Regions from separate parts of the Homo sapiens genome. Here region 1 is linked to region 2. The links are contacts of gene promoters, found by promoter capture Hi-C in blood cells and fetal thymus (Javierre and others, 2016). All regions are on one chromosome and are shown on one strand. Each heading gives the region's core, a stretch centred on a gene start or on the middle of the fragment in contact. The rest is flanking DNA. Distances are from core to core; before and after follow the strand shown. Region 1 has its middle 4.5 kb from the start of ENOX2. Region 2 holds the start of UTP14A (UTP14A small subunit processome component).

Region 1 (5,484 bases), core at 2,716-5,215, 1.0 Mb before region 2:
TTGCCCTGTCCTTCTTAAGCAAAAATTCTGAGACACCAAGGACATTGCTGGTCCTGATTCAGTAAACGGCCTCTCTTTATGGTTTCTTCCCTGCATCATTCCTACCATTTCACTTGTATGAATCCACTTTTTTAACCTTTTATGACAACTTTATTGATGTATAATTACCAATCACTATCACCACAGGCTGAGCAAACAGTCTCTTAAGCTTGGTCACAGAGCAAGCTGCCAACACTGAATGCAGATCCTGTGTTTAACCCTGACCACCAGCCAAACACCTAACCCAAGACATAGCCTAAACTCCTAACTCTGAACTTGGAGGCTTAACTCCAATTTCACACCAAGCCTTTAACCCTGGCCACAAATGAAGACCCTAATTCTATCCACAAACTGAGCCACTTTCTGGCCACACTCCAAGGTCTTAATCCTGATTAAATCAAGTCCCTAGGCCTAGTTACATACTGACTGTCTACATCTGGCCCAAGAGTAAGTACTTAAGACTGGTCCCAACCTGAATCTCTAACCCTGATCCCCTATTGAACCATAACTATGGCTACTGTATAAGTCCTTAATTCACGATACAGGGATCAAAAATAACATCAGATATAGCCCCTAAGTCTGTCCCCAGGCTGAGTCTCTAAACTAGGCTACAGACTGCATGACCTAACTCTGGGATATACTTAACATCCTGAACTGACCACAAAATGAGTGCTCAGCATAGATACTAACTGAGCTCTAGCCCTGACTACAGACTGAGGCTCTAACTTGGTCACAGCCTGAGATCTGATCTTGGAAACCAACCCAGCTACAATTTCCCAGACTTAGCACTAACCAGAAAATGACCCCAACATTGGCAACAGAATGACTACTAAACTTGGCCTCATACAGAGACGAAAACATGTACAGAGACCAGACTCTAAACTTGTCCCAACTCTGTGCCTTAATCATGGCCAAGAAGTGAAACCAAATCTTCCACAAAACTTGAGAATATTTTGACCACAGCATATGTCCTAATCCTGACTATAGACAGAACCCTGAACATGGCCACAAACTGAGTCTTAACCATGTTCAAAGCCCAAGTTCTAAACCTGGACAGAGACTGGGTTCATAAATCTGATCAGGAAATAATCTACTGATCCTGGGACAGACTGAGCCCTATCACTGGCCACTGATTTGACCCCTAAACCTTACAGCTTCTAACTGGTTACAGACTGCATCTCTAACTCTAGCCATAGACTGAATTCCTAACTCTCATCACAGACTGAGCCCATAAGCCTAACCTCTGACATGAGCTTTCAACCTGAAAATAAATCTGATTTCTCCAAATGGCTAATGACTGATCCTGAATTTTTGAGATAGACTGAACCCTATCTCTGGCTAAATGTTCACCCGAGACTGGATCCCAATTTCAACCACAACTTTAACTTTAACCCTGGCTACCGACTGATTCCTAATACCAGAAATTAAGCTGCTCACCAGCACTGGGCAGAGACTGAACCCAAACCTTGAAGATGAATGAAGGACAAACTAGACAAAGACAAAACAAATACTTTTCATTTTCTTGGCCTAAAACCCTGCAACAGATTTAATTCTAACCCTGAGCACAGACGGAACTCACCATGGCTAAGATCTGAGCCCTCTTCCTGGCCACATTCTGAATACTGAGCTGGGATGAAGACTGTAAGTCCCACCACAGTCTGAGACCTAAAGGCCAAGCCCTAAGCCTGGTTAGAGAAATGATTCCTGACCCTACAAGACTAAATCAAAATCCTGCTCATATTATCAGATCTAACAACAGGCTGAGACTAAGTACTCACCTTTGTCACATATCAAGTCTTAAACCCATAAACAAAGTTCACTGTATTAGTGGCCACAAACTGAGTCCTAGCACTAGCTGGAGGTTGAGCAATCAGTCTGGTCACAAACTTAGTCCTCAATTGTGAATAGATGTACCCATGGCACTGGGCACATTATGGTCACTAACAATTAGCAAAGACTGAACTCTACTACTGATACCGAAATGCCTGCTACACTAAGCCAGAGTCTAAGTGCCAGACTGACAACAGGCAATGAACACTCTGAACTCAAACCCTGGCAACATCCTGATCCCAAAACCCTGATTACAGCCTGAGCCTCTAAAGCTTTCAATCTGGATTTTATGTGTTGTTTGTTCTCATCTCAACTCTATCCACTGACTGACAAATAACATCAACAGCTAATCCAAAAAACCTGTTTACACTCTTAGCCTTAAAACCTTCTTCATAGTAAGCCTTACCTTGGTTATTGGTAACTCCCAAACTCTGGTACAAGTTTAATCAGATAGCACTACCACCAATACTCAGTGAACACAAATGCTACATAAAGTCATAGTGGAATTACTCCCTCCAGACTCAACTCTGATAGTGGTCAAATTGAAATGGCTAATACAGGTCACCGACTGAGCCCTGCTCTGGCCACAGAATGAGGGCCAACACAGGCCACTGTGAGTTAGCTCCATAGAACATTGTTGATATGAGCTATGGACAAAGACAGAATCCTGACACTGGCTAAAGTCAGAAACCACACCTTGAACTTACTCTAGCCAAATATGCATCCCAAATCCTGTTCATATTCATCATTGAAATCCTGGCCACAAACTGTATCATAATTTTGTCCATATATGAAATGCTAACTCTGGTTTGAGACAAGGCTCTAGGGCACATGACAGGTAATGTCCTAACATGGCAACAGACTGAATATTAGACATTGACTGTGCCTTACCATTGGCCACGGACTGAGACTTAATTATTGGACCCAGAATAAACTCTAACCATGAATACGAATTGAAACTTAACCTGAAGAAAGACTGAACATAAATCCTGTTCATATTCTTACTTCATTTTTTCCTAGGCAACATCATCAGCATGAAGACTAATCCCAGGCAGAGCCATGGTCCTGGCCTTTATTGACTTTCAAGTCTAGAAATGAAAGTGATTCCAACATTGATCAAAAACTAAAGTCAAACATTGAGCTGAGCCCTAACCTTGGGTGTGGTCTAAGTCTGGTCCACAGACTGAGCCCTAACTCTAATTTTAGAATGAGGCCTCTTCCTACACACAGACTAAATCCTAATTCTGGCCAAAATTTGAACCCAAATCTTGCACCTTGACTTCATAAACCAGGCCACTCTAGACTTACAGCAGCCTCAGAGTGAGCTTTAACACCCTGAGGCTGCTGTTAGTCCAGAGTGGTCAGAAATGCACTTTAATCTGTGACACAGACTGAACCATGGCTCTAAATCTGGGGCCTAATATTGCTATCAGGCTTAACCCTAAGCTTGGTTTGATGGTCTTCTGATCCTGAATCCACAATGGCCTGTAAAAACAGCTACAGACTTACTAAATCTTAACCTGAGAAAAGATTGAAGCTAAATACATTCCACATTATACACATGAACCCTGGCCTTGACCTGGGCTCTACACTGGCTCTGGATACAGCTCTAACCTTGACTTCCTAATTGTTCTCTGAATCCAGCCAGACTGTTTGACCCTGGGCCAGTATTTCACAAATTCATCTTATTATATAACAACAGACCAAAGAGTATCACGTTTGTATATACACATACAAATATATGTATACATTTGTGCTTATATATAATATATATTATATATAAAATTTCTGTATGGCTTATTGGAGATATAGATATGTTTTATATATTATATATAAAATTTCCATATGGCTTATTGGAGATATATATATGTGTGTGTGTGTGTATTTATATCACCATACAGAAATAGCCATACACAGCTGTGACATACACAGTAAGAAATATTACTTATCACAGCTATGTATTTTAATTATTTATCTTGTTTGTTGATGGCTTCTTCCTAACAGAATATAGCCTCCAAAGGGAAGGGATGTTGTATGTGTTTTCCACTTCTCTATTCCCAGCATCTAGAATAATGTCTGGCACATTATAGGTACTCAATAAAAACTTGTTATATTGATGAAGGAGTAATTTCTTCTTACTATTCTGTCCTGCTACTTGACCTCTCTGTAATATATGCCAGTAATTCTACTTTGTTTTCTCTTGGTTCATCTGTTTGGGCATTCCCTCTCAGCTTCCTTGGAAGGCATCTCTTCTTCTACTTGCTACTTGAATATCATTATTTTCCAGGATTCCATAATCTTTGTCTTTTTAAAAACTATTATTCTAAATACTCTCTAAATTGGCTGGGCACAGTGGCTCACGCCTGTAATCCCAGCACTTTGGGAGGCTGAGGCGGGTGGATCACTTGACGTCAGGAGTTCGAGACCAGCCTGGGCAACACAGTGAAGCCCCATCTCTACTAAAAATAAAAAAAAAAATAGCCAGCTGTGGTGGCAGGCACCTGTAATCCCAGCTACTCGGGAGGCTGAGGCAGGAGAATCACTTGAACCCAGGAGGCAGAGGTTGCAGTGAGCCGAGATTGTGCCACTGCACTCCAGCCTAGGCAACAGGGTAAGAAACCGTCTCAAAAAAAAAAATACTCTCTAAGTAAAGTTTAAACAATTTTTCACTTATTTAATTGCCCTCTATATTATACTAATGTCTCCCAAATGTTTAGTTCCAAGCAAGACCTCTCTCCCAAGCTTCCGACCGGCATTTCTCAGCAGCCTATCAGGCATCTCCAACCAAAAGTTCCACAGACTCTTCAAATTTTAAATGTTCAAAACTGATTTCCTCCTATTCTTCACAAAACTTGCTATTCTTTCTAGGTTCAATATCTCAGTGAATGGTACTACCATACACTTAGTCTTCCAAGTCAGAACTTGGGAGTCGTAATGGACTCCTCCCCGTCTCTCACTTTCCACATCTACCAACTCCATCTGATTATTCCATTTCCTGCTAGAAATACTTTGATGAACAGGAACCCATGTTTTAACTCACCATTAAAACCCAAAACCTGTCATAGTGTATGGAACATAGTAGGTGCTCTGCAAATACTTTGAAATCAATGATCAAATCAAAGTAAAGAGTCATGGAAAAAAAGATAAAAAGAAAGGAGACAAAGCTGAGAAAAGAAATTCTGCATTTGATTCACACAATGTTTTTCTGGTGGCCATAATACTGAAAATGCCTTGTTTCACTCCTTTTTATGGCTGAAATGAGGTGATTTTTCTTTTTCTCTTTTTTCTTTCTTTTTTTAATTTTTTAATTTTTTTTGAGACAGAGTCTTGCTCTATCACCCACTACACTCGAGTGTAGTGGTACAATATCGGCTGACTGCAGCCCTAACTTTCCAAGCTCAAGGGATCCTCCTGCTTCAGCTTCCTGAGTAGCTGGGACTACAGGCATGCGCCACTATGCCTGGCTAATTTTCTTGATTTTTTGTAGAGACAAGGTCTCATTATGTTGCCCAAGCTGGTCTCGAACTCCTGGGCTCAAGCAATCCTCCCAACTTGGTGTCCCAAAGTGCTAGGGTTACAGGCATGAGCCCCGGCACCCAGCCGATTTTTCTTTTT
Region 2 (5,469 bases), core at 1,233-3,732:
TAGGAATGAATAAATTTTATGGGGGCTTGGGGTTGGGAGAGACAAACACTTCTCTCTTCAAACAGGGCTTTGGTTTCTTGTATTTCTTCTAGGGTCATGTTTTGTCATGATGCAGCAAGGAGATCTGTTCCTAACTTGGACTTGGTTGTCTAACCCTCATCTCTTCTCTTTATTACAAGGTAAGCATAGTGGAAAACATATTGGACTTAGATTCAAACACACCTGAACCTGTAACTTATGAGCCAGGTGACCTTGGGGGTAAGTAAATTTATTTCTCTAATGGGGTTAAATAATGCCTACTCAATGCTTTAAAAGATTTTCAGTGTGGAATAAGACTGCAAATGCTTACAATAATAGCACTAAGACTAATAACAGCTAACAGTTAATTATATAATGCTTACTATATGCTAGGCACTGGTATTAAGGTCTTTACATGAAGCACTCAATAAATATTAGCTGCAGAGAAATCTCACGGAATTGACTATATAACCTGCCCTAACTGACGGGAACGTTACCTATTCTTTCCATCAAGGGAACTGATTGCTTCCAGAAGCTTTTGATGCTTTCTCTCTCCATCATTGTCCCCCTAAGACACAGAAAAGGAAAAACAATCAGGATGAGGGGGAGGGAAAAGACAACATGGAAATTGAGTCTCATGTAAAATCTCTTGTTATTTATTTATTTATTTTTGAGACGGCGTCTCGCTCTGTTGCCCAGGATGGAGTGCAGTGGTGTTATCTTGGCTCACTGCAAGCTCCGCCTCCCAGGTTCATGCCATTCTCCTGCCTCAGCCTCCCAAGTAGCTGGGACTACAGGCGCCTGCCACCACGCCTGGCTAATTTTTTGTATTTTTAGTAGAGACGGGGTTTCACTGTGTTAGCCAGGATGGTCTCAATCTCCTGACCTTGTGATCTGCCCGCCTTGGCCTCCCAAAGTGCTGGGATTACAGGCATGAGCCATCACCCGGGCCTGTTTTGGTTGGTCTTATAAATTATACTTATGCAACTTGAGGGTAGTGATTGTAACTTAGTTTCCAAATCCTCATAGCACTTAATATGATACAGTATCTTATATATGAAACACTAACCATTTGCAATTTATTTGAGAGACCTGAACAAATACATAGAACATTGTCACACCCTTCCATTCCAGGAATGTGCTCTCTACCCTAATTTTGAAGGCAGTTTAGCAATTGTCACCCACCTCATCTTCACTCTCACTCAAGAGGTAGTCTTTTGGCAAATCCGCTAGTTCTTCCTGTTGGCTCAAAGCCAGAAGGCTGTTAAAAGAGGCAACAGAGAAATGTGAATGCAATATACCCATGTAACAAACCTGCATATGTATCCCTTAATTATAATAAAAGTCGAAATTAAAAAAAGAAATATTATTATTTGAAGCAATGTCTAATCTATTAAAACAATCTCGAAAACATTGTAATTTCAGCACAGAATAGCCCTATCCCTCAGAAGATATATAAAGCAGCGTGAATGCCTTTGGAAACTTGTCAAGATGTGAAATTTAGACTGAAGTCAGGCATCACCTCCAAGAGTGATGCCTGACTTCAAAACTGCATGTAAAAGAGCTATCACTTTTCAGGGATTGGCACAACATTTCCTATGACCTATGGGAAGCTGTAAAAATGTCAGACCCTAGAATAATATGGCCAAAGACGCTGTTGCTAGCTAGCCCTGGAGGCAAGGCAGTTTCACGATTAATATTTCTAAGCATCCTCCATATATTTGACTCATTGATAGGCAGCCTAATCAAAAGTGTTATCTTGATCCTTGTTCCCAGGAATGGAGAAACAGGTCGAAAGCAGCTGGGTAAGCCACTTTCCCTGGGGCTTGCTTAGTAAAGTAGGTGCTTAACTAAGGAGATTGGTACCCACAAACAAATTATAAAATGTACCATTACCTAACAGCATATATTATTAGTATTTGCAAAGCCAACATTACTAAACGGACTACATTTAGTTCCGGGGGCGGGGTGGGGGGGGCACAAAACATCACAGGAGCCAAAACGTGGTGGATGACTCCAATCAGCAAAGCTTTCCAAGATTCGGGGAGTTTATAACGCCTGCACTGCCTGCGCAGAGGATTAAATCGGGCCGCGACAGAGGCAGAAAAAGGGGCCACGTGACGAAAAATGTGAAACACAGTAAATGAGCTGGGGAGGCAGAAACAGCATCAGGACCAACAGGGATGCGGCTATACAGCTGAGGAGCGGAGTAAGCGAATGAAATTAAATTAAAAGGGCTTTAAAGGCTGGATCGCGGAAAATAGGAACGAATGGCCAGCTCTTCAGGGGAACCACTGCCATCTGTTAAAGGGGGGGCTCCCATTTCCCAAAAGCTGGGGAACCCGGCCCCCAACGAGACCCAGAATCCCCCCTCCCCTCGTTGCCCTTCACCTCTCTGCAAGCCGGTTCGCAGTCATTTCAGCAGCCAGCTTCTCTCACATGGACCAAGAACGGAAGCCGAAGGAAAGCAATTTCCGTGCGGGCCGCAAAGCAATTTCTGTTTCCGTCAATCGCTCGCGACGTACACGTCACTTCCGTTCCGTACGAGGCGTGAGAGAAGCAGGAGCCGTGTAGGGAGGGGCCTGCAGAAAACTGGGAGGCCTGAGATGAAACGGCTGTCAGCGGGTGGGGCATTCCTTTCTCCACCCACCCCGTATTTCTCTGGCGCGCGGGTGTCTGTCCTCCTGGCCCCTGGTTTCCACGTGGCCCAAGGTGGGTTAGCTTAGGGCGACGGTGCTGCGCTCTCAGGGGCTGAGCCCGCGCCTTCATTCGTCACTGCAGAATCCAGAAGGAAAGACTACAGCGCCCGTCCTTGTGCGACGGCGTCCTGCAAGCCGACCACAAGCCAGCTCGGGGGTTTATTGAATGCCTATTAAGTGGCCAGATTGTGCCGGGCCCCGGAGATCCGATGGTGAACATAACAAGTTTCCTTCCATTTAAGGAAAAATCGCCTTTGATCCCTTGTAATTGCAGCTTTGTTCTTCATTTCCTGAGTCAAAAGATTTTTTTTATCCAAGAAGGGGCCATCAGTAACTACGCTTCCTCACCTCCCATCAACTTAAAAAAATTTTTTTAAACAACTTTTTTTCTCCCATCAACTTTTAAGAATTTTATTTATTTATTTTTGAGACAGAGCCTTGCTGTGTCGTTCAGGCTGGAGTGCAATGGCGTGATCTCAGCTCACTGCAACCTCCACCTCCCGGGTTCAAGCGATTCTCCTGCCTCAGCCTCCCGAGTCGCTAGGATTACAGGCACCCGCCACCATGCTCGGCTAATATTTGCATTTTTAGTAGAGACGGGGTTTTGCCACGTTGGCCAGGCTGGTCTAGAATTCCTGGCCTCAAGTGATCTGCCCGCCTCGGCCTCCCAAAGTGCTGAGATTACAGGTGTGAGCCACCGGGCCCGGCCTAATATATATATATATTAATTAATGATTGTAGAAAAATAATAGACAAGAACATTCTTTTCATTTTTTTTTTTTGAGACGGAGTCTCACTCCGTCGCCCACGCTGGAATGCAGTGGTGCGATCTCAGCTCACTGCAAGCTCCGCCTCCCGGGTTCACACCATTCACCTGCCTCAGCTTCCTGAGTAGCTGGGACTACAGGCGCCTGCCACCACACCCGGCTAATTTTTTTTTTTTTTTTAAGTAGAGACGGGGTTTCACCGTGTTAGCCAGGATGGTCTCGATCTCGTGACCTCATGATCCACCCGTCTCGGCCTCCCAAAGTGCTAGGATTACAGGCGTGAGCCACGGCGCCCGGCCCGTTCTTTTCATTCTTGTAATCCATTCCCATTTTGCTTTTGCCCCATTATTCCACAGAAATTGCTCTGGACAAGATCAGCGACACCCAAAGTTGCTAAATAAAACGGATACCTCTCAGTCTTTGGCTTCCCAGAACTTTGTGTGGCATTTAGTAACTGTTGATTTCTTTTCTTTTCTTTTCTTTTCTTTTCTTTTCTTTTTTTTGAGACGGAGTTTCGCTCTTGTTGCCAAGGCTGGAGTGCAGTGGCGCGATCTTGGCTCACTGTAACCTCCGCCTCCTGGGTTCAAGTGATTCTCCTGCCTCAGCCTCCCGTGTAGCTGGGATTACAGGCATGCGCCACCACGCCTGGCTAATTTTTGTTTTTTTTTTTTTTTTGAGACGGAGTCTCGCTCTGTCACCCAGGCTGGAGTGCAGTGGCACAATCTCAGCTCACTGCAACCTCTGCCTCCCTGTTTCAAGTGATTCTCCTGCCTCAGCCTCCCGAGTAGCTGGACTACAGGCACATGCCACCATGCCCGGCTAATTTTTTGTATTTTTAGTAGAGATGGGGTTTCACCGTGTTAGCCAGGATGGTCTCGATCTCCTGACCTCGTGATCCGCCCTCCTCGGCCTCCCAAAGTGCTGGGATTACAGGCGTGAGCCACCGCGCCCAGCCTAATTTTTGTATTTTTAGCAGAGATGGAGTTTCGCCATGTTGGCCAGGCTGGTCTCGAACTCCTGGCCTCAGGTGATCCTCCCACCATGGCCTCCCAAAGTGCTGGGATTATGGGCGTGAGCCACCGCACCCAGCCGATTTGTTTTCTTATTCATGAAATATTTTTGGCCATCTAGTATGTGCCAAGCCTCTAGGCATTGGGAATACATTGGTGAACAAAGCAGATATGTCCCATTGCTTCCTAGAGCTTACTTTCTAGTGGGATTAAAGACAATTTTGTCATTGTTGAAACTCCATCCTGAGATTTCATGACACCATTCTCTCCTGGTATCAGCCCTATGACCATCTTCCTCAGTCTTCTCTGCTGGATGCTTTTAATATACTTTTAATATGCTTACTCCCTAAATGATGATGTTTCCGAGAATTCTGCTCTAAGCCCTCTTTATTTATTACAGATACTCTTCCTAAGTGAAATTGCCTTTAACAGCTGTATGAGAACAAAATTTATATCTCTAGCCCTAATCTCTTTCTTGAGCTCCAGACTGGTATATCTGATTGCCTCCTGGCTATTCTTTTTGCCCCACAAGCACATCAAACATAAAATGACCAATAATTTCTATCTTTTCCACCAGAGTTCCTTTCCTGAATTTCCCATTTGTATGATTGGCCCATCAACTACCCAGTTAGTAAAATCAGAAGTCTGAGAGTCATCTTAGATTCCCCTCCCCCTTATGCTCCACAGCTGTTTGCCCACATTATCAGTTTTACTTCCCTGAGTCTCTTTCAAATATCTCCTTACCTTTCTCCATCATGTTTGCCATTGTATTAGTTCAGACCTTTGCAATTTGAAGCCTGTGGTATTGCAGTAATCTTATAGAAAGGGGGAGCATTATAGCATTTTCATACTCATGAAATATGAAGAATGAACGAATAAATACATTTCATGATGAAGAACCTGAGTTTTAAAGCTGGACTCTGGGATTGAATCTTAGCTCTGTCACTTACTAGTTTTATAATTTTTTGGGGGGGT

Evidence for each region. The method cuts DNA at HindIII sites, captures the fragments that hold promoters and counts their contacts. A CHiCAGO score of 5 or more calls a contact.
Region 1: a fragment that was not itself captured here is called in contact with the fragment with the promoter of UTP14A in region 2 in 3 of 17 cell types (naive CD8 T cells, activated CD4 T cells and non-activated CD4 T cells); the score reaches 8.0 in naive CD8 T cells.

What each region holds. Positions count from the first base shown.
Region 1 is chrX:130,904,979-130,910,462 of GRCh38, reverse strand. No RefSeq gene overlaps it. Among named protein-coding and RNA genes, the nearest start is that of ENOX2, 4.5 kb to the right of the region's middle. The HindIII fragment of the contact is 1,296 bases long and covers 3,318-4,613 here.
Region 2 is chrX:129,903,177-129,908,645 of GRCh38, reverse strand. UTP14A (UTP14A small subunit processome component) reads right to left here and starts at 2,482. Exons shown (of 15, transcript NM_006649.4): 1 at 2,410-2,482; 2 at 1,204-1,279; 3 at 516-586. The coding sequence starts at 2,435. LOC105373335 (a long non-coding RNA gene) reads left to right here. Exons shown (of 3, transcript NR_188631.1): 3 at 93-1,382. The HindIII fragment of the contact is 20,573 bases long and covers 2,050-5,469 here.